Regions from separate parts of the Homo sapiens genome. Here regions 1, 2, 3, 4, 5 and 6 are each linked to region 7. The links are contacts of gene promoters, found by promoter capture Hi-C in blood cells and fetal thymus (Javierre and others, 2016). All regions are on one chromosome and are shown on one strand. Each heading gives the region's core, a stretch centred on a gene start or on the middle of the fragment in contact. The rest is flanking DNA. Distances are from core to core; before and after follow the strand shown. Region 1 overlaps AGBL1 (AGBL carboxypeptidase 1). Region 2 overlaps AGBL1 (AGBL carboxypeptidase 1). Region 3 has its middle 79 kb from the start of MIR548AP. Region 4 has its middle 21 kb from the start of MIR548AP. Region 5 has its middle 60 kb from the start of MIR548AP. Region 6 has its middle 39 kb from the start of MIR548AP. Region 7 holds the start of NTRK3 (neurotrophic receptor tyrosine kinase 3).

The links. Contacts are between HindIII fragments. The CHiCAGO score rates a contact against its expected background, and 5 or more counts as called.
Region 1: a fragment that was not itself captured here is called in contact with the fragment with the promoter of NTRK3 in region 7 in 1 of 17 cell types (naive CD4 T cells); the score reaches 5.2 in naive CD4 T cells.
Region 2: a contact is called between a fragment that was not itself captured here and the fragment with the promoter of NTRK3 in region 7, in 2 of 17 cell types (activated CD4 T cells and naive CD8 T cells). The highest score is 6.6, in activated CD4 T cells.
Region 3: a fragment that was not itself captured here is called in contact with the fragment with the promoter of NTRK3 in region 7 in 3 of 17 cell types (naive CD8 T cells, M0 macrophages and endothelial precursors); the score reaches 6.8 in naive CD8 T cells.
Region 4: a contact is called between a fragment that was not itself captured here and the fragment with the promoter of NTRK3 in region 7, in 4 of 17 cell types (endothelial precursors, M0 macrophages, M1 macrophages and 1 more). The highest score is 18.2, in endothelial precursors.
Region 5: a contact is called between a fragment that was not itself captured here and the fragment with the promoter of NTRK3 in region 7, in 2 of 17 cell types (M0 macrophages and endothelial precursors). The highest score is 7.5, in M0 macrophages.
Region 6: a contact is called between a fragment that was not itself captured here and the fragment with the promoter of NTRK3 in region 7, in 15 of 17 cell types (M0 macrophages, endothelial precursors, non-activated CD4 T cells and 12 more). The highest score is 32.1, in M0 macrophages.

Annotation. Positions count from the first base shown.
Region 1 is chr15:86,217,569-86,220,268 of GRCh38, reverse strand. All of the region lies in intron 5 of AGBL1 (AGBL carboxypeptidase 1), which reads right to left. Among named protein-coding and RNA genes, the nearest start is that of AGBL1-AS1, 98 kb to the left of the region's middle. The HindIII fragment of the contact is 963 bases long and covers 889-1,851 here.
Region 2 is chr15:86,236,977-86,239,676 of GRCh38, reverse strand. The region is part of intron 6 of AGBL1 (AGBL carboxypeptidase 1); the gene reads right to left. Among named protein-coding and RNA genes, the nearest start is that of AGBL1-AS1, 79 kb to the left of the region's middle. RefSeq lists an enhancer at 1,872-2,700. The HindIII fragment of the contact is 6,883 bases long and covers 1-2,700 here.
Region 3 is chr15:85,903,690-85,906,389 of GRCh38, reverse strand. No RefSeq gene overlaps it. Among named protein-coding and RNA genes, the nearest start is that of MIR548AP, 79 kb to the right of the region's middle. The HindIII fragment of the contact is 2,718 bases long and covers 1-2,696 here.
Region 4 is chr15:85,845,319-85,848,018 of GRCh38, reverse strand. No RefSeq gene overlaps it. Among named protein-coding and RNA genes, the nearest start is that of MIR548AP, 21 kb to the right of the region's middle. The HindIII fragment of the contact is 1,073 bases long and covers 909-1,981 here.
Region 5 is chr15:85,884,758-85,887,457 of GRCh38, reverse strand. No RefSeq gene overlaps it. Among named protein-coding and RNA genes, the nearest start is that of MIR548AP, 60 kb to the right of the region's middle. The HindIII fragment of the contact is 1,957 bases long and covers 310-2,266 here.
Region 6 is chr15:85,863,722-85,866,421 of GRCh38, reverse strand. No RefSeq gene overlaps it. Among named protein-coding and RNA genes, the nearest start is that of MIR548AP, 39 kb to the right of the region's middle. The HindIII fragment of the contact is 420 bases long and covers 1,120-1,539 here.
Region 7 is chr15:88,255,375-88,258,074 of GRCh38, reverse strand. It overlaps NTRK3 (neurotrophic receptor tyrosine kinase 3), which reads left to right and starts at 1,336. Exons shown (of 20, transcript NM_001012338.3): 1 at 1,336-1,431; 2 at 1,589-1,791; 3 at 1,907-2,169. The coding sequence starts at 1,922. The region is part of intron 1 of NTRK3-AS1 (NTRK3 antisense RNA 1); the gene reads right to left. RefSeq lists enhancers at 2,118-2,654, 2,655-2,700. The HindIII fragment of the contact is 4,913 bases long and covers 1-2,700 here.

The DNA of each region.
Region 1 (2,700 bases), core at 121-2,620, 2.0 Mb after region 7:
TAGCAAGAGGCAGTATTCACTGGACTTGATGGCTCATGCCTGTAATCCCAGCACTTTGGGAGGCCGAGGCAGGTGGATCACAAGGTGAAGAGTTCAACGCCAGCCTGGCCAAGATAGTGAAACCCCATCTCTACTAAAAACTACAAAAAATTAGCTGGGCATGGTGGCAGGCCCCTGTAATCCCAGTTACTTGTGAGGCTGAGGCAGGAGAATTGCTTGAACCCAGGCAGTAGAGGTTGCAGTGAACCAAGATTGTGCCACTGCACTCCAGCCCGGGCAACAGAGTGAAACTCCATCTAAAAAAAAAAAAAAAAAAAAAAAAAGAGGCAGCATTAGCTATAAGTCTACCTCTGGGTGAATTTAAATCTAGTGATCCTAAAGTCTTCTCTCTACTTTTAACATAATTCTAGAAAGAATCTAAAATATCTCTCTGTGCAATATTTTTATCTTTCAAATAAGGATTGTGGAGATCAAAAGGTTAGATGACTGGTGCAAGGTCAGAGGATTCATACATCACAGAGCCAATGAGGCAAACAACTTGTCCAGCTTGAGTCCACTGTTTGATTCAAGATTCTACATAGCACAGTGTGGTACAGCTTAAGCGGGTTTAGATGTTCAATGGTGGTCATGGAGACAAAGACAAAGAACTCAAGGAGAAGCAAGTCACAGGCATCTTTGAGTGGCAGGACTGAGTTGCTAAATTAGGAATTAGAGGGCTTGGGTTTGAAGCTTGGAGCAGCCACTTTTCTGCTTCTGGGTTCTGGGTTTACTTGATCTCTCTGAATCTCATAGCCTTTCTCATTTATAAAGTGGGTATAAGATCTAACTGATGGGATGGTGTGAAGAGTGAGATAAAGTAAAATTTAAATTAAATTACGTTAAAAAGCTTACTAGAGCCCCTGAAATGTAATATTATTAGGTTGGTCCAAACGTAATTTTTGCCATTAAAAGTAATGGCAAAAACCACAATTACATTTGGACCAACCTAATAACTTGAATGTCATTCTTGGATCATGGAAGGTGGAATGGGTACCAAGTGAGGAAGTGGGTTTATCTCTGTATATGTGTTTGCAGGCAGTGAGCCTGCAGGGTCATCATTCACCAGTCAGGAGAGGTCACTGGAGAAAAAATGTGCTCCTATCCCTGGGTACATGGAGGAAACATAGGACCAAACTATCTCTTGGAAGTCAGATATTCTGTGGCACAGATGGCCTAGATATAGCAATGCCACCCATATTAGTTATCAATTGCAGTGTAATGTTACCACAATTGTAGCAGCTTGAAGCAATATTCATGTATTATCTCACAGTTTATATGGGGCAGGAATCCACTTAGGTGGATCCTCTGCTTACGGTCTGACAAGGCTGCAATCAAGGCATCAGCCAGGGCTGAGTCTTCATCTTGAGGCTCAACTGGGGAAGGATGTTTCCCAACTCAAACAGGTTCTTGGTAAAATACCTTTCCTTGCAGTGCCAAGGCCAAGGACACTGCCGGCTTGCTGTATCAACAGACAGTAAGACCACTCTGCATTTCTAGAGGCTACCTGCAGTTTCTACAAGCCACCAACTGTTCTTTGCAATGGGGGTTTCCCCAACATTACTGCTTACTTCATCAATGAGGAAAGTTTCTATAGAGAGTACATATGCAATGACCTCTTATAACACAATTATGTAATATAATCACAGGGGTGACCAGGGATGACATGTCCTTACCTTGCCATATTCTGTGGGTTAAAAACAAGTTTCAGCTCTTTCCCATCCTCAAAGGCAGGAAATAACATAAAGGTATAAACAACAGGAGGTGAGGATCATGGCAGGGGGCCACCTGAGAGTCTGTCCCCCACCCAAAGCTTCTTGCAATGTTTAGCATCCAGATACCAGCAACCTAACATTCACTTCACCAAGACTTGACCCTCCCCAGACGTCCCCTTTTCAGAGAGTGGAAATACTATCTTCCCAGAAGTTGAACATGCACCCTTAACACCACCTGCCCTTTCCACCTAGATCTCCATCATTTCCTCAAACACCACTTTGTAACTTCTAGAGAGCTCTTAAGTTGTCCATTCCTTTTGATCTCTGCTGTTGTCACCCTAGCCTAAGCATGTGAGGGTCTGGTACTTTAATGAGAAATGTAATTTCTAGAGCTATTGGTCCTTGGTTGGAACATATATTTTAACTTCCTAGGTTATTCCTTAGGTATATTAGAAAATATAATTAAGCAAAAAGAAATGAAATAAATTAAAATCACCCAAATATCTCTCACCCAACTACTGCTATAGCCCCAAAACTAATCTATCCATATCCACTCTGTATCTCCTTCAAGCTGTTCTCCAGTCTGCAACTAGAGTGGTCTTCTCAATCAGAGGCTCAGATTTGAGCACCCTCACATTGCTACCCCACATCCACTCTTGCTCTGGATAAAAAATCCAAATCTGAAACATGGACCAGGAGGCCCTACTGAATCTGGCAGATGCCACCCTCTCCAGCTTTGTCCCACACCACTTTCTCTTGCTTTCTATACCTCTGCCCCACTGTTCTTTTTCCAAGACCTAGAGCATGTACCCATGGCTTGTCCTTTGACCTTGCTAATGCTGCAGCCTAAAATGCCCTGGGCCTTTCTCCCCTTCTTTACCTGTATCTCATACTTTATCCTTTACATCCTAACTTAGGTGTCATTTCCTGTAGAAAGACTCCCTTGACC
Region 2 (2,700 bases), core at 11-2,510, 2.0 Mb after region 7:
TTTCGTAGGAAACTTGAAAAGGTTTAAAGACCCAAATAAATAGCCTATGGTTCTTTGAGTCCCTGGAGAAGATGTTTTGGGGACTTCTTTACATCCAGCCAATGACACAGTGAGGCCGGCCCAGCAATGTCAGGCCCAGGTGTGAGTGCGGCACCATTGAAGAGAGGTGGAATCAACTGCCACCTCCTCCTGCCCTGCAGCTGCAGGAGTGGCTGGTGCAAAGGAGAACAGCCAAAAGCATAAGGATATGTACAAAAGCATAAGGAAACCTAATGCCATCCATAATGGAAATTATACTTGATTATCATTTCTCAAATAAGAATGATGGTTTTGAATTAGCTTTCGGGTACTTTTTTTCTCTTTGTAAAATAGATACATTTCAATAAACTTGGCTATAAAGTAAATTTTGGTTTCAAGCAAATCTTGTTTTCTCAATTGACTGCCTTTATAAAATTAAAGATGCTTTTCCGAAGCTCCAGAAACCGGGACAGGTAAGAGACTACACTTCAGACCACTGTTTTAAATCTAGATGAATCTATCTTTTTATAAATCCTCAACTCCTTCTAATAACTTGCCACAGAACTAGTCCCAAACCACAGGAATTTCTCTACTTTCAGTAAAGCCTCAGAATCCACACCTTTCTCTTCCTCACACATCTCTGCTCTTCCCCCACCCTCAGCACATACAATGTCTAATGAAGGACCTTAGGTTGCAATGCTGCACCTATGAAGAGAAAGGGGCATGCCTGTAATTCCAGCACTTTGGGAGGCCAAGGCAGAAGCATTGCTTGAGCCAGGAGTTCAAGACCAGCCTGGACAACAGAGTGAGACCCCCATCTCTACAAAAAAATAAAAATAAAAAATAAATTTGAAAAATAAACATAGAAGGCGCCACAAGACTCGAAACTCTTCTGAGTCAACATTCTACATTCCATATGAGGAGTCTATCTCACATACTTTATCAATCCTCAGGCATATGTTTATCCACATTTTAGCATTTCTGAAATTAAGGTGCTTCTTACCAAGGGTGATGTTTTCATTGTAACTGACAGCATTTTCTCACTCAGTGGCACATAAAAAATGGCATACACCTCACAGTTGATGATAGACTTAGATTTGAGAAAATATGGTTGATTTTTCAATATTGCTAGTTTGAAAATTCTCTAACATGGTAGACTCTTGGGAGGTTTGCTTCTTAGATGCAAATAAACATACAGGCCTTTGTCCGGAAAGCCAGATTCTCCCTATGGCTAGGCAGAGAGTAAATTATAAACTAAAACCATGTTCACACACCCAAAACCCAAGGTACCACCCTTAATCCATTCAGCAAACATTTATTTAGCAACTACGATATACCAGTTGTTCCAGGCACTATTATTGACAACAGAGATGCAGCAGAAAATGAAATAGAGAAAGCCTCACCTCTTATGGGGTTTGCAGTCCCACAGGAGTGGCAGGGGGAGGCAGATACCAAATAGGCACACACAAAGAAAACTAAACAAGGCAATTTCACATAGAGACAAGTGATACAGAGAAAACAAAACAGTGGCACTAGAGTGATGAGGTAGGGTGGCTGCTTTAGGTTGGATGATCAGGGAAGACCCTTGAGGAGGGGGCATTGGAGCTGAGGCATGAGCGACAAGAAGGAACCAGGATGCAGAGATCTGGGGATAGGAAATTCTTCAAACCTCAAGGGCACACAGCAAGTGGATAAAGCAAAAACTTGGTAAGTACAAATAATGAAAAGTCCAGGAGCTAAAGCCAGGTGAAGAAAGCAAGGGGACAGTAGTAGCAGATGACGGGAAAGGTGAGCAGGGATCAGGATGTGTGACCCCCCACCATTTTGAGACTCATCCCAACAGGTTGTGCAAAAGCGGGGGAATCTGTCAGGCTGAGAATTTCTCACTCGCCTTTCTGTTGTTTTTGCATCTCTGCAAGAAGACCCTTCAGAATAATTGTCTTAGAAATAGGCCTAGAAATTTGTATAGGAGTTTTTTTATCCATCCAAATTTTTATTTTGAGTCTAGACTGTGGGTGGGGAAGGAAGTACTTGCTAAACCCCAAGACAAGCCATTATCCCTTCCAGGTCTAGAAAATCTTCCACCTGGTTTGACTTTGCTGTGTCCACTGTCAACTCATCAGAGGATGACACTTAAAGAAGAAAGCCAGGATTTACATCAAGAAGAAGAAAATCAGAGACCTTCCCTCACCTTCCTTTCTCCCCAACTTGATATTTAAGGCACCCGTCTGTCCACCAGTGATGCTGCCTGCTTCTGGCCAGAGTACAGACAACCAACATAGACAGCAGGAAAGCAATTCTGCCCTGCGTTGCAAGCATCGCTCATGAATCGGTTCACACTGCATTGTGCCTCTAGGCCCTGAGTGTATGAGGAAGAGGCAAATAGCAAATGCTTCTGCACCCCTGAGCCTGCCACCCTTCAGCCTTATGTCAGCCAATAGTGTGTCACTATTGTTATAGGAGTTATTAAGAAATTATTTTAGGCAGATACAGAGGAAAGAGGGTCCTTGGGAAGTTTTTGTTTCTTTTAAAGTAGCTCCAGAACGTTTCTTGTCTAGCAGGAAAGGCCCGGCTTTTAGAGCTGGGCTGGCCAGCTTTGATATGCAAATGTGGGCCATTAAAAACTGAGTCCACCATTAGAAACTGGGCCCACCCACATCTTCTTGCCCTTGCCCCAACATG
Region 3 (2,700 bases), core at 88-2,587, 2.4 Mb after region 7:
CATTCATTTTTTTCATTGGATCTGTCCGGGGACCTCCTCCGAGCCTACTTTCCCAGCCTGCGTCTTTGACAATGATTCAGTCTCTCTTCTACCACTCTGCCTTGGGCCTCACAGCACAGGCCAGCATGGGAAACATCCAATATCCACACAGCATCCTGATGGGCAGGGCTCCCACTCATCTCAGCCCAGCCCTGCCAGCACCTCCCAGACAGGATGGTAGACCAGGGACTGGAGTCACAAGGAGCAACGCAGGTCTGCCGTACTGAATTAAATAGATGAAAACTTCTGTTTCAGATACTGCTGAATTCTTGGGAAACACTTGAATAAGCAATACTTTGTGTTTTCTCACGACGGAGCAGGACTGACCCATAGAAAAGACTCCCTCAGAGCCTGCGGGGGGCTGGGCAGGCTCTGAATGGCAAGGCAGCCTTTCCCACTGGAAACCAAGGCCTTCCCGCTCCCCAGCCATTAGCAACACCAATCCCTTTTTCCCTGTCGCATTGTGTCAGCATTCACTTCTGACCAAGAAACCCCATTAATTTTCTGTGATGTACATCCCAAATGACATCACTTCAGTCCTTTGAAATTCAAAATGCTGGATTAATGAACCACAAACTTCAAGAAATTGGCTGCACAATCCATCACATCTGACTGCAACTTTACCACTACCTCAAATTCCAAAGAGCGGCATAAATTTCCCAGGCTGCTTTTGAAAATGAACACAGAAGCCGGAAACAGCAGCCCACACTGCGTTCATCGTTTCTACAAATGTTGTGTCTTCTGTGTGCTGGAAATTAAATGGTCCCATTCTCCACCTGGTATTTTATTGATATAAATTTAACCTGTTCAAATGTTGTATTAAATTCTAGTCTTTTCCAGAATAATCTGCATTTAATTCCTCATTCCACCAATCTATTGAAAATCTCCCTCTTGGCAGCCTTTCAGAAAAGCTATATGAATTACAAACTCTTTGAAATTTTGTTGAAGTATTAAGAACACTACTTACCCACATATTCAACTGAGGCCCTTTTAATTCCATTCCATTTCCCCAAACTCCTTTATATAATGTCAGAGCCACAAAAACCAGACTCAGTGACTGGGCACAGCCATTCACCTTTCCTTCAGAAGTGAAAATGGCATTAACATTCGCAAATGAAAAAATATAGATCAAACTAATTACCTCCTTTTTTCCCCAAAGTAAAAGACGATCTAACACCATTCTTTTGGACATAATGCCATTTATTTCACATAAGGGGGATTTTGTGTGCTCAGAAAAGATGGTATTTAATACGTGTGAATCAAAATCCAGATTAGCTAATTAACTGATGTCTGAGAATGAGATGAAGAATCAACATGCTATGAAAATTGTCAAAAGCACAGAAGAAATGTCACACCAGGTGAGACTAGTCCATGGGGTCCAGAGTTTTCTCTGCCAGTGAAACAGATTTTTTTTTTTTTTTTTTTTTTGACATGGAGTTTTGCTCTTGTTGCCCAGGCTGGAGTGCAATGGCACGATCTTGACTCACTGCAACCTCTGCTTCTGGGTTCAAGCAATTCTCCTGCCTCAGCCTCCCAGGTAGCTGAGATTACAGGTGCCCATAACTACGCCCAGCTAATTTTTGTATTTTTAGTAGAGATGGGGTTTCACCATGTTGGCCAGTCTGGTCTTGAACTCCTCACCTCAAGTGATCCACTCACCTCGGCCTTCCAAAGTGCTGGGATTACAGGCATGAGCCACCATGCCCGGTCCTGTTTTTTTTTCCAAAAGCACAGTAGAATAAAACTTTGGTTAGTTGAAATCACCAGAAAATGAATCATCGTCAGATAGCCAAGTTTTCCAGATAGCTGAAGGTAATTTCTTTAAATCACAAAAATGTTTTATTTAGCTTAAATGTTTCTCTGCCCTCATAGAATGCATTTATCCAACACTGGTCATTCAGTCATCACTATGAGCATCAAAAATTATTTACCGAAGGCCTAAGGACTTGGTGAATTGTAGTGGGTTATTTGCCCCTTCATTAAATTGCCCCAAACTGTTGTCCTGGATGTACCTGTCAGTGACATCTGGCTTAGTTCAATATTTCCCGACTCTCAGGTAGATTCCAGAAGGCTCATTTTTGGAAAGGTGATGTTGGGGTGGACTACCAAGGTGTCACCTTTAATGATGAAGGATTTACCTCACCCAGATCCCCAACCCTCAGTAAGAATTGGCTAAGATATTCATCATGTAGAATTTATCCAATCTAGTGGTTCCAATTTTTTTTTTTTTGGTAGAAGCAGGCAAATGAAGAGGTCATTTCTCGAATAGTCATGGTCACCTACAAGATGTGATAGTGAAACCCAGTCCTAACTGATCCAGTCTTTAGTTACAGAGGAGGAAGAGCAGAAAATTAGATTCTTAAGAGTTTCCTGGCTGTGGCAGTCAAGTGCCTCATAGAAAAATCTAGAGAACTATAGAAAAAAATAAGCCATAGAAAAAGTCCAGGCTAACAGAGGGAATGGGAAACATCAATATCACTGAAGGGTTTCCAGGTAATACTTCAAGATAAACCAATTCATTAATTTAACTACTGCAGTAACATCTCTTTCTGGTTTGTAAAATGTTTTAAGAGTACCAACTTCCAAACGTTCATACCTGTACGTCAATGTATATAAGTTTTCTAGAAACTTGAAGCCATTTAAAGTAATTAGAAGCTTTTT
Region 4 (2,700 bases), core at 196-2,695, 2.4 Mb after region 7:
ATTATCTTTGAACTCTCACTTTTCCATGCTATCACTTTCCCATATTATCACAATAACTCAGGAGTCTGTATTCAGTGGGGGTGTAAGTGGATTAGATGGAGAAAGAGAGACTTGGAGCAGAAAGAAGACAGAATGTGATGCTCAAGTGTTGGAATAAAATTCCTCTTTACAGTTACTCTAAGGAGCTGTTTCTATGCATTTCCAGTAAGCTTAATGATCAGTTTCCACAGCATCAATCATGTTGAGAAGCTTCATTATAAAACAGCCAAAGCATTATTCATAGTCACTCTGATGATAATATGATCATATTATGGGAATAATATTAAAGCACAGAAAAATAAGAAAAATGGGTAAGGATTGGGTTGGAAAGGTACTACTCTGGGAAATATAGAGCTAGTTATCATCTGGAGCACCCATCACAGGCTTTACATGTTTAGAAAGAATCGCAAGATTTCAAGTCTGCTTGTAGAGAAATACTCAGTGTCACATTTTACAACCCAGTGTGCTCCTTTAATAAAACACATTATTTAATATTGTATCTCAACGTGATTCATTCTACTATGAGTAGTTAATATTCTTCCCAGGTGCTGAAGAACCAGAAAGTCTGGAGCTGAAAATTCGAGGGTCAGGCCAGTTTAATCCCCTTTTGTTCTCAAATCAGTGATAAATAGATTACCAGAAATATTCTCAGGGACTGAGACAGACAGGCTGGACGACATAGAGAATTTATTTCAAATCCAGCTTCTGTGAATCCAGATGTCCATTCATCTCCTATGCAAAATGCTGCCGGAATCATCTGCTGACTTGTAAATGTCCATTTCCAGTCATAGAGCTCTCCCACATTAGCTTTGGGATCATGACCCAGGGAGCTGTTTAAATATCAGTCCAGCAACCTGCACTGTTAAGCTTTTTTTTTTTCCTAATCTTTTGAATTTTATTAAGACTTATTTTATCACCCAGCATATGGTCTAACTTGGTAAATATTCCAGGTGCATTTGAAAAGAATGTGTATTCTGTTCTTGGGTATAATCTCCTATAAATGGCAATTAGGTCCAGGTAACTGATAGTATTTACATATTCTATATTCTTACTGATGCCTTTGTCTAATTGTTCTATTAATTACTGAAAAAGGGATGTTAAAAATATTCAACCAGGATCGTTGACTTGCCTAGTTGTCCCTTTAATCTTCTCAGTTTGTGTTTCATACATTTGGAAGTTCTGTCATTGGTCACATATGCATATAGAAGGGGTGTATGTTCCTGCTGATTTGGTTCTTTTATTATTATAAAATAATCTGTATTGTATCTCATAATACTCCTTGCCTTGAGGTCTATTTTGTCTAATATTGTTATAATCACACCAGCTTTCTTATACTTACTATTTTCATGGTATGTACTTTTCCATTCTTTTACTTTTAAACTATCTGTGTCTTTACATTAGAAGGGTGTCCTTATAGGCACACTTTATAGAGCATAAAGACGGGAATTGCTTTTTTATTCAGCCTGATAATCTCTGTCTTTTAATTGTTATGTTTTGTCCTTTTACATTTAATGCAAATGTTGATATGTTGGTCTATCATTTTATTATTTGTTTTCTATTTGTCCTATCTCTTTTTTGTTCCTCTGTTCCTTCTTTTCTACTGTCCTTTGGGTTAATCAAACTTTTTTAGTATTCTATTTTAACTCCTCTATTGGCTTTTGAGTCACTTGCGACATTATCGTTTCATTAACCTCGCCTAGTCCTTTCTACCACTATTGTCATTATGGTACATCTACATACATTATAAACGCCACTGATTTGAGAAATTGTATTCAGCAATTAATATATAAATAATACATAAAATAATATATGAGTCGTTTGAGTTCCTTATATTCTGATTATTAATTTGTTGTCAGATGAACAATTTGAAAATATATTCTCCCATTTTTGTAGGTTGTCTCTTCACTTTCCTGATTGTTTTCTTTGCGTTTGTGCAGAAGCTTTTATGTTTGATGTGATCCCATTTGTCCATCTTTGCTTTGGTTTCCTGTGTTTGTGAGGTCTTACTCAAGAAATCTTTACCCAGACCAATGTCCTGGAGCATTTCCCCAATGTTTTTGCCTAATAGTTTCATAGTTTCAGGTCTTACATTTAAGTCTTTAATCCATTCTGATTTGATTTTTGTAAATAGTGAGAGATCAAGATCTAGTTCCAGTGTTCTGTATATGGATACCCAGTTTTCCCAGCACCATTTATTGAACAGACTGTCCTTTCCCCAATGAGTGTTCTTGGCACCTTTGGCAAAAATTCTACCTTCCAATACCAGATGAAGAGAGAGGAAAGTAGAAGGAGGAGAAAGAAAAAGAAAGGAAAGGAAGAAAAGAGAGGCAAACCAATGAGTTCAATTGGCCAATTCACACAGTGGCTTCTGTACCATCACTCTGAACACTGTCCCAGCGTAGCCCAAAGCCCCCTTGCCTCCTTCCAGCTAAGACCCTTGCTGGCCCAGATCTGTACAATCAAGAGTAGTGTTCTACACTGGAACTTCAAGTTATTCTTCCTAGTTCATAGGCACAAACTCTGCCTAAAGCACAGGACATGCCTGGATCCCCAACCACAGCCACATTCAGAGCCGGCTCCGTGTCTTCTCACAAATCCAAGGGTCACCATCTCACCTTCCCTCACAGTGAGTTTGTACTCCAAGGCCCTTGGCGTCCTTTC
Region 5 (2,700 bases), core at 39-2,538, 2.4 Mb after region 7:
TTTTTTTTTTTGAGACAGAGTCCCACTCTATTGCCCAGGCTGGAGTGTGGTGGTACAATAACCCCTCCCTGTAGCCTCAAATTCCTGGGCTCAAGCAATCCTCCCACCCCAGCCTCCCAAGTAGTCGGACATGTGCCACTGTGACCAACTAATTTTCTTATTGTACAGATGGGGCCCTGCTATGTCACCCGGGCTGGTCTCAAACTCCTGGGTTCAAGAGATCCTCCTGCCTCAGCCTCCCAAAGTGCAGGGATTACAGGCACAAGTCACCACATCCAGCCTAAATTCAGGTTTTTTAATTCCAAAGCTTAAAGATTTCCCCAGCCTTCCTTGATAATCCCTCTAATAATAAGTGAGGTTTTTAGACATGCAGTAGCTCAAAGGTGGTTTAATCCAAACCTTCTTATGCAAGAGAACACTGAGGCCTGTGGATTCTTGACTAATGTGGGAATATGATTAGAACTCGGTTCTCCTGAATCCCAACCCACTTCCCTTTCTACTGTCTCATCCTACAAGAAACCTTCCCTAATGCCTTTGTGCTACATATTAGGTTGATTTTTTTATGTAAATTCTGCATAAATTCATATAAAGTGTATTACACTTAAGGCATTAAATTAACTCCCGTTCCTCTTTCCATCTCCCTATGGTTCCTAATTTTCAACTCCTCCTTATTTTGAACAGTCTCCAAGTTCCTCCTGCCCGTCTGCCAGAGCAGCTGCCAGCCCAGTTTATAGCAGACTCATTTTTGCAGGATACAGTCATTTGGGAATGGTCAGGGACATCAGGGAAGCCAGGACAGAAGCCGGACAGGGCTGATTTCAAGGGCAAAAGAACAGCTGGCACTTGGGACAGCCACTGCCAGCATCGAGAGGGCAAAGTGGGCCCTGGGGAACACGAAGGAACGCCTGCCCAGCAGCCAGCGAGAGCCAGAGCCTGGCGAGGCTTAACTGTCCCAGTGGCACTGTGTTGGGATGAACAGGTGCTCCCACAGATGACTGGGCAGCTCAGCTTCTAGCAGGGATGTGGTGTGGGGTAGACTGAGCAGGGAATTGCAGATACACACAGACCAAGAGACAACCACGCCCTTGCAAAGCAGTTGAGAATAGCAGCTGGGATGAAAGTACTTATTCTTCACTTGAGACAGAGTCTCTCTGTTGCCCAGACTGAAGTGCTGCGGCACAACCTCGGCTCACTGCAACCTTCGCCTCCCTAGTTCAAGCAGTTCTGCCGCCTTAGCCTCCCAAGTAGCTGGGATTACAGGCACCCACCACCATGCCCAGCTAATTTTTTTGTATTTTTAGTAGAGACGGGGTTTCACCACATTGGCCAGGCTGGCTTCGAACTCCTGACCTCAATCTGCCTGCCTCAGCCTCCCAAAGTGCTGGGATTACAGGCATGAGCCACTGTGTCCAGCCAGAAGTACTTATTCTTAGGGGAGTAGAAACATTTGACCTTCAGCCAGTCAGAGGCTAAAGGCAGCATGACTGGGGGTGGTGCTACTCAAAGGGTGGTCCTTATACATCAGCTTTACCTGGGAGCTGGTCAAAATGCTAATTCTCAGGTCTCACCCCAAACCTACTGAATTAGAACCTGCATTTTAATAAGAAACCCAAGTAATTCCTGTGCACAGTAAAGTGAGAAATGCTGGTCTAGGACAGGGATTCTCAGTGTGGTTTCCAGACCAGCAGCATCAGCATCACCTGAGAACTTGTTAGAAATGCAAATTGTCAGGCCTCACTTCCAGACCTCTGGGGAAGGGGCTCAGCACGTGGTTCTAATGAGCCATCCAGGTGACACTGGTACGCATTAAAGTTTGAGAAGCACTGATTTCAGAAACATCTTATGCATTTTGGAGACAGGCAATTCGGAGGAATCTCAGGAAAGGAATCCTGATTGCAGCTTGGAAGGAAGACCCAGAACACCGGCGCCAGCCAGCACCGTCTCCTGCTGCTCCAGCCTCCTGACACTCTTACCCACAGACAGCAGACCCAGAATCCAGGCTTCCCTTGCCAGCCCAGGAATTCCCAAGTTTCAGAGCTCAGCTGGTTGGAGGTCACTGCATTGAGTAGTGGCCGTTCCAAATTGGTACACCATATACAATCAAGCCAAACCCCAGAAGAAAACAGAACAGCCCAGATCTGTAATCCAGCCACCAGCTGAGGTCTCTCCACACTTAAGGACCAGATACTACCAGCTAGAACTTCACTCCTTGACCTGCGGAAACCCAGGATCCTCCCCCATGACTTCTGGGTGTTCTTAAAAAGCTTATTTCAGGGTCCCTTCTAGATTCAAGTTCTGCAGCTGAATCAAGTCAGCAGATGGACAACCTCACCCATCCTCACAGGGAGTCCCTTGCCCCATGGCATCAACCTGGATATGGGACCCAGCACATCTGTGGTTACTGTTTTATGAAATATATCCCACTAGGATTTTGAAGGTAGTACACTTTCATGAAGCCACTAGGGAAAGGGGCTCCAATCAAAGAAATACAAATCATTTCCAACTGAGTAGCAGCATCTCTATTCTTAAAAGCCCCAGAACCCACCAGAATGCTCTGACACCTTCCCCTCCCTATTGTGCTGAACCCCTGTAAACCTCAATAGAGAAGGCATCAGGTTCAAGAGGCTGAAGAGACCCAGAGCAAGCACATGAGACATAGGGCTTTATTACGGAGCTTACCTACAGAGAAGAGGGTCCAGT
Region 6 (2,700 bases), core at 80-2,579, 2.4 Mb after region 7:
ATAATCCAGAATCAGTAAGACAAATCCAGAGTGCTGGGCATTCTACAAAACACATGAACCGGACTGTTGAGAAATGTCAATGTCATAAAAGATCAAAAGCGGAGGAGGAGAGCTCTACAAAAAAGGTGACATGACAACTACATGAGGGTGTGATACTCAAATGGACTCTGTAGCAGGGGATTGAAAATTACTATAGGCCAGGCGAGGTGGCTCACACCTGTAATCCCAGCACTTTGGGAGGCCGCGGCAGTCGGATCATTGGAGGTCAGGAGTTCAAGAACAGCCTAGCTGACATGGTGAAACCCCATCTGTACTACAAATACAAAAAAATTAGCCAGGTGTGGTGGCACACGCCTGTAATCCCTGCTACTTGGGAGGTAGAGGCTGCAGTGAGCTGAGATCACACCACTGCACTCCAGCCTCTGCCACAGAGTGAGACTCCATCTCAAAGAAGGAAGGAAAGAAAGACAGAGAGAAAGAAAGGAAGGAAGGAAGGAAGGAAGGAAGGAAGGAATGAAGGAAGGAAGGAAGGGAAAGAAAGAAAATTATTGTAAAGAACATTGCTGGGACCGTTGGGGCAATTTAAATGTGATTATAAATTAAGTAATGTATCAATGTTAAGGTTCTTGGATATGGTGATGTTGTGGTTATATAAAGAAATGTCTTTATTCTTAGAAGACGTGTTGAATTATTGAGAGGTAAAGTGTCAGGGTGTCTGCAACTATCAAAGCTTTCATCCAGAGGAAGAGAGAGAAAGATGAAATAAATGTGGCTAAATGTGATAATTTGATGAATCCCAGTGAAGACCAAGAAGATGTTCATCTTCCAGCTTTTCTATAGGTTTGAAACTTTTCAGAGTGAAAAGTTGGGAGGATGGAAAAAGAAGTAAATAAATAAATGAATCAATTGAGTCAACAATTGAGATTCCTTTTCCCTAAGACCTTTATAAGCAGTTTGCTCACATTGATTCTGATGTGGACAGTTCTGGATGTAAAGGGGGCAGGCCTAGAATGAATGATCTTTCCTGGCGTCTTCCAGATTGCAGATGTACGTTTGGTTTGGTTTGGTTTGGTTTTTAATTTGGGAATTACAAAAGCAGCAGGGACCCTGTGCGAAGCTTGAGCGGCTGCTGCCATCTTGTGGATCTCAGCACTTCTGCAAAGTTGGAAACATATTCCAGGTCACTGCAGGCTAAGGAGCCCCCCTCCACAGCCTGGGAAGGAATGCCCTGGAGGTTAAAGGTGTAAGTACTTTTGTTAACTTCCTTCCAGAGTGAGTGACGATGCAGCCTACATCCTTCAGTGGGTTCTCTGGATGCACAGGGTCCTCCGCCTTTAAAGTCAGCAGGCCTGACAAAACTTGCATCGATTTCACTCTGCAAAATTCAGGCTAGGGAGCCATTGAGTGGGAATTTACTGACATTTGCACGCAATATTGACTTGTTGGCATTGTTTTCTTATTCATGAAGTCTCATAAAAATGATACTGGGCACTTCTGATACCAGCTTTTCAAACCTCTAATTGGTTCACAGACAAAGCTTTGAAAGCAGGTGTGGGAGGGTCACGATCAGAGACAGTGAGAAAGAGGAGGGAGTGGACTACCTTAGAAGGAGAGCGGGAGGAGGAGCCAGAAAAAAAACTAGCTTCTAGATTTTCTTTGCAGGCAGGGTGGATGTGGTAAGAAGCTCTGAGGACTTTCAGGCTAGGTGGACTTGGGTTTGCATTTCAGCACTGAGGTGCCACTTTCTGCTTGGGGCAGCTTAGACATCTCCTGGGGATTGTTATCTGAATGGTGGTGATAACACATAGGGGATTATGTTAAGGACTGAGGATGTTTTAAGGCAGCAGTTTTAAACTTGAGCAAGCCCCAGAATAATCTAAAGGGTTAAAACATAGATTTCTACCCCGACTCCTCCCCCAGAGTCTCTGATTCAGCAGGTCCCAGGTGGTCCCAAGCATCTGCATTTCTTTTTTTTTTTGAGACAGAGTCTGGCTGTGTTGCCCAGGCTGGAGTGCAATGGCAAGATCTCGGCTCACTGCAACCTCTGCCTCCCGTGTTCAAGCAATTCTCCTGCCTCAGCCTCCCAAGTAGCTAGGACTACCGGCACATGCCACCATGCCCAGCTAATTTTTGTATTCTTAGCAGAGATGGGGTTTTGCCATGTTGGCCAGGCTGGTCTTGAACTCCTGACCCCAAGTGATCCTCCCACCTCTGCATTTCTAATAAGTTCCCAGGCAGCGCTGATGCTGCAGGTCTGGTTACCATGCTTTGAGAACCATTGTTTTAAGGACTAAAATGGCATAAACATATGGTAAGCATGGGGTAGGTAGTCAACAATCAATCAGACCTCTGCCTGACACTTCCCAGGGCTCCTTCCAACACACCCCCTTTGAGTAGGCACAAGCATTTCTGAGACTGAGTATATCTCTACAAGACATGTCCTGGGTGTTTATCTTAGACATGAGATAAAGCAAAGTTCTCACAGTAGTGCAGGGAAAAGACCCACGTGGGCTTAGGCTGGGATTTCAGGCACTGAGTGGTGCGGCTCAGGCTTGGATGGGCACAGTTGCTTGGCCCCACCCTGTGCAGAGACGTTTGACTGAAAAAGACACAGGCCTTTTTTTTTTTTTTTAATTTTACTTTAAGTTCTGGGATACATGTGCAGAATGTGCAGGTTTGTTACATAGGTATACATGTGCC
Region 7 (2,700 bases), core at 87-2,586:
TGCTTTCTTCTGCGTGTGAATGCTGTAGTGTGTCTGCCTGCTCGGACTCCCCTAACCCTTTCTTCTCCTTTCCCACAGCGAATGCTCGTTTTTTTTTTTTTCAGCAAACAGCTCACACTTGGCATCTTTATGTTTTATTAAGAAAAAAATCCCTACCAGCGCAAAAGCGGGGCCCCCCCCACACACACTTCTTTCCCGGATGAGATCTGAGCTCTCGTCGAAAGCTGCACCTGCTTTGCGTCCCTACCAGGAAGGGGTGCTTGTGTGGGAGGGAAGGAGGAGGTTCTGCGCCCCCGAATCCGGAGAAAGCAGCCCGCCCGCCCCCTCACCCGGCAGCCAGCTCAGCTCACCCGAGAGCTGAGCCCGAGAAGCCGGCCTCTGACGGTGCTGGCGTGGCGCTTGCCAAAATATGCCCCTTGCATCTCAATTTCCCCCGGCCATTTCTCTTGCACGCACAGCTCGCCCGGGGCCACCTCGGCTCTCCAGCGCAGCCCTTTCGACCCCTGTTTCTTCCTTCCCCGATCCATGCCTGCTCAAGGCCGAATGCAAAACCCACCTCCAAGAAAGCGCAGCGGGCACGGGGGGCACCTAGCGTGCCATGTCCCGCAGTCCCCTCCCAGCCAAGACCAGAGCCCCAGACTCTAGATTACGGAAATGAGTGTCATTCAGACCAAGGACTGCGCGTCTGCGGTCCCGGTCCCCGGCTCTGGGTGCTTCTCTGGGGTGTCTGTGCGCTCCGGCACCCCCCGTCGCCGTCCGTGAGCCTGCGCCCCCCACCCACCCAGGCTTGGGAGCGCCCCCCACCCAAGGCTTGGGAGCACTCCCCAATCACCTCCGCCACGTTCATTTCACTTCCTACCGCGGTCCGGATTGCAGCAAAACCGGGTAGCGCGAGGGCCAAAAAGTGGAAAGGAGAGCGCCTTTCCGTGTCGTGCAGCCAGCTCGCCAACTCTCCCTCCCCAGCCCCGACCCTCGCAATCTCAAATGCAACTTTTTCCCTTCGGTCTCGGTTTCCCCCGGGCTGCGGCTAGCGGGCGCCGCGCTGCGAGGCGTGGAGCGGGCGGGCTGCCGCGAGGCTGCGGGTGGCGGTGCCGGCTACAGCCGCGAGCCGGCGAGTGGGTGGGTGGGTGGGTGGGGAGGAGGGAGAGGACAGGCGGGGAGAGAGACGGGTGTGGGGAGGGGAGGGAGGGGGAGATTCCGCTCTCCTGCCGCTCCCAGCCCGGGCGGGGGGCGGGGGGAGGAGGCCGCGACGAGGGAGGGGAGGAGGGAGGGAGGAAGGGAGGGAGGGAGCCGAGGAAGACGCTCCGATAACCCGTGCGTTTCGTAAGGCTCGGAGCACTTGTACATTTCTGCAGCCGCGCGGCGAGCCATTCGCGGCGGCTGCTGCAGCTCCTACTGCATCTTCCTTCTCTTCCTTTCCTCGGGCTCCGGGTGTGTGTATGTGTGAGAGTGAGTGTGTGTGTTTTGCAGGTGCGTGGTGTGTCCGTTTTAATTCTGCCCAGTAGGTGGGACTTGGTGACTTTAGCACCATTTTTTCCTTTTCCTTTTTTTTTTTTGCCTCCCCACCGTCTGTTGCAACCCTGCAAAGTCTCGGAGTCGGAGAGCGCGCCTCGCTTCCAGAGCCCCCGGACCCGGCGAGTCAGCGATCGCCGAGCCGGCCACCATGCCCGGCAGACCGCGCCACTAGGCGCTCCTCGCGGCTCCCACCCGGCGGCGGCGGCGGCGGCGGCGGCGTCCGCGATGGTTTCAGACGCTGAAGGATTTTGCATCTGATCGCTCGGCGTTTCAAAGGCAGAGGCCCCCCCTCCCCCTTCCCCCCTCCCTCGCCGTCTTTGTTTCCTTCCCCCCCTGCTCTCCCCACTCCCCCCACCCCACCCCCCTCTCCTCTCCTCCTCCTCTTTTTTAGAAGCAGCGATCGGAGATGGATGTCTCTCTTTGCCCAGCCAAGTGTAGTTTCTGGCGGATTTTCTTGCTGGGAAGCGTCTGGCTGGACTATGTGGGCTCCGTGCTGGCTTGCCCTGCAAATTGTGTCTGCAGCAAGACTGAGATCAATTGCCGGCGGCCGGACGATGGGAACCTCTTCCCCCTCCTGGAAGGGCAGGATTCAGGGAACAGCAATGGGAACGCCAGTATCAACATCACGGACATCTCAAGGAATATCACTTCCATGTAAGTCAGGCGGCCGCTCCCCAGCCTGCCTCCCCCGCGCTCTGCGTCTCCCTCCTGCCCACCCGCGGCCGGGAGCCGGCCCTCCGCCCGCCCCAGCTCGCCGCTGCCCGCCGCCCGCTGGGCGCGCGTCAGGCTCGCTCTGGCTCGGGAGATGCTCTCCGGCTGCGCATTCCAGGTGACTCCGGCCCTGGCGAGGCGCGATCCGGCTATGCGTGTGTGTGCCTCTCCCCGGAGAGGACCCCGGCCGCCGAGGGCACGCGGGGCCCAGCTACCGCCCGCCTCCCAACCAGTTGCTGGCTCGTTTCGATGGTGCAAATTGTTTTTTTTTGCTCCCCACTAAATAGCAACAGTTTGGCCACGCTCAAGTGGAATAAAGTAGACGAGGTTCGATTCTTTGGCAGAGGCGGCAGCGGCGGTGGCAGCGGCGGCAGCGCTTAGCCGGCAGGGAAGGTGACAGATAGGGACTGCTCGCGATCCAGCCGAGGTGTTTAACTATTTCCATTTGGAAACAGCAAAACATGCTGACAAGTA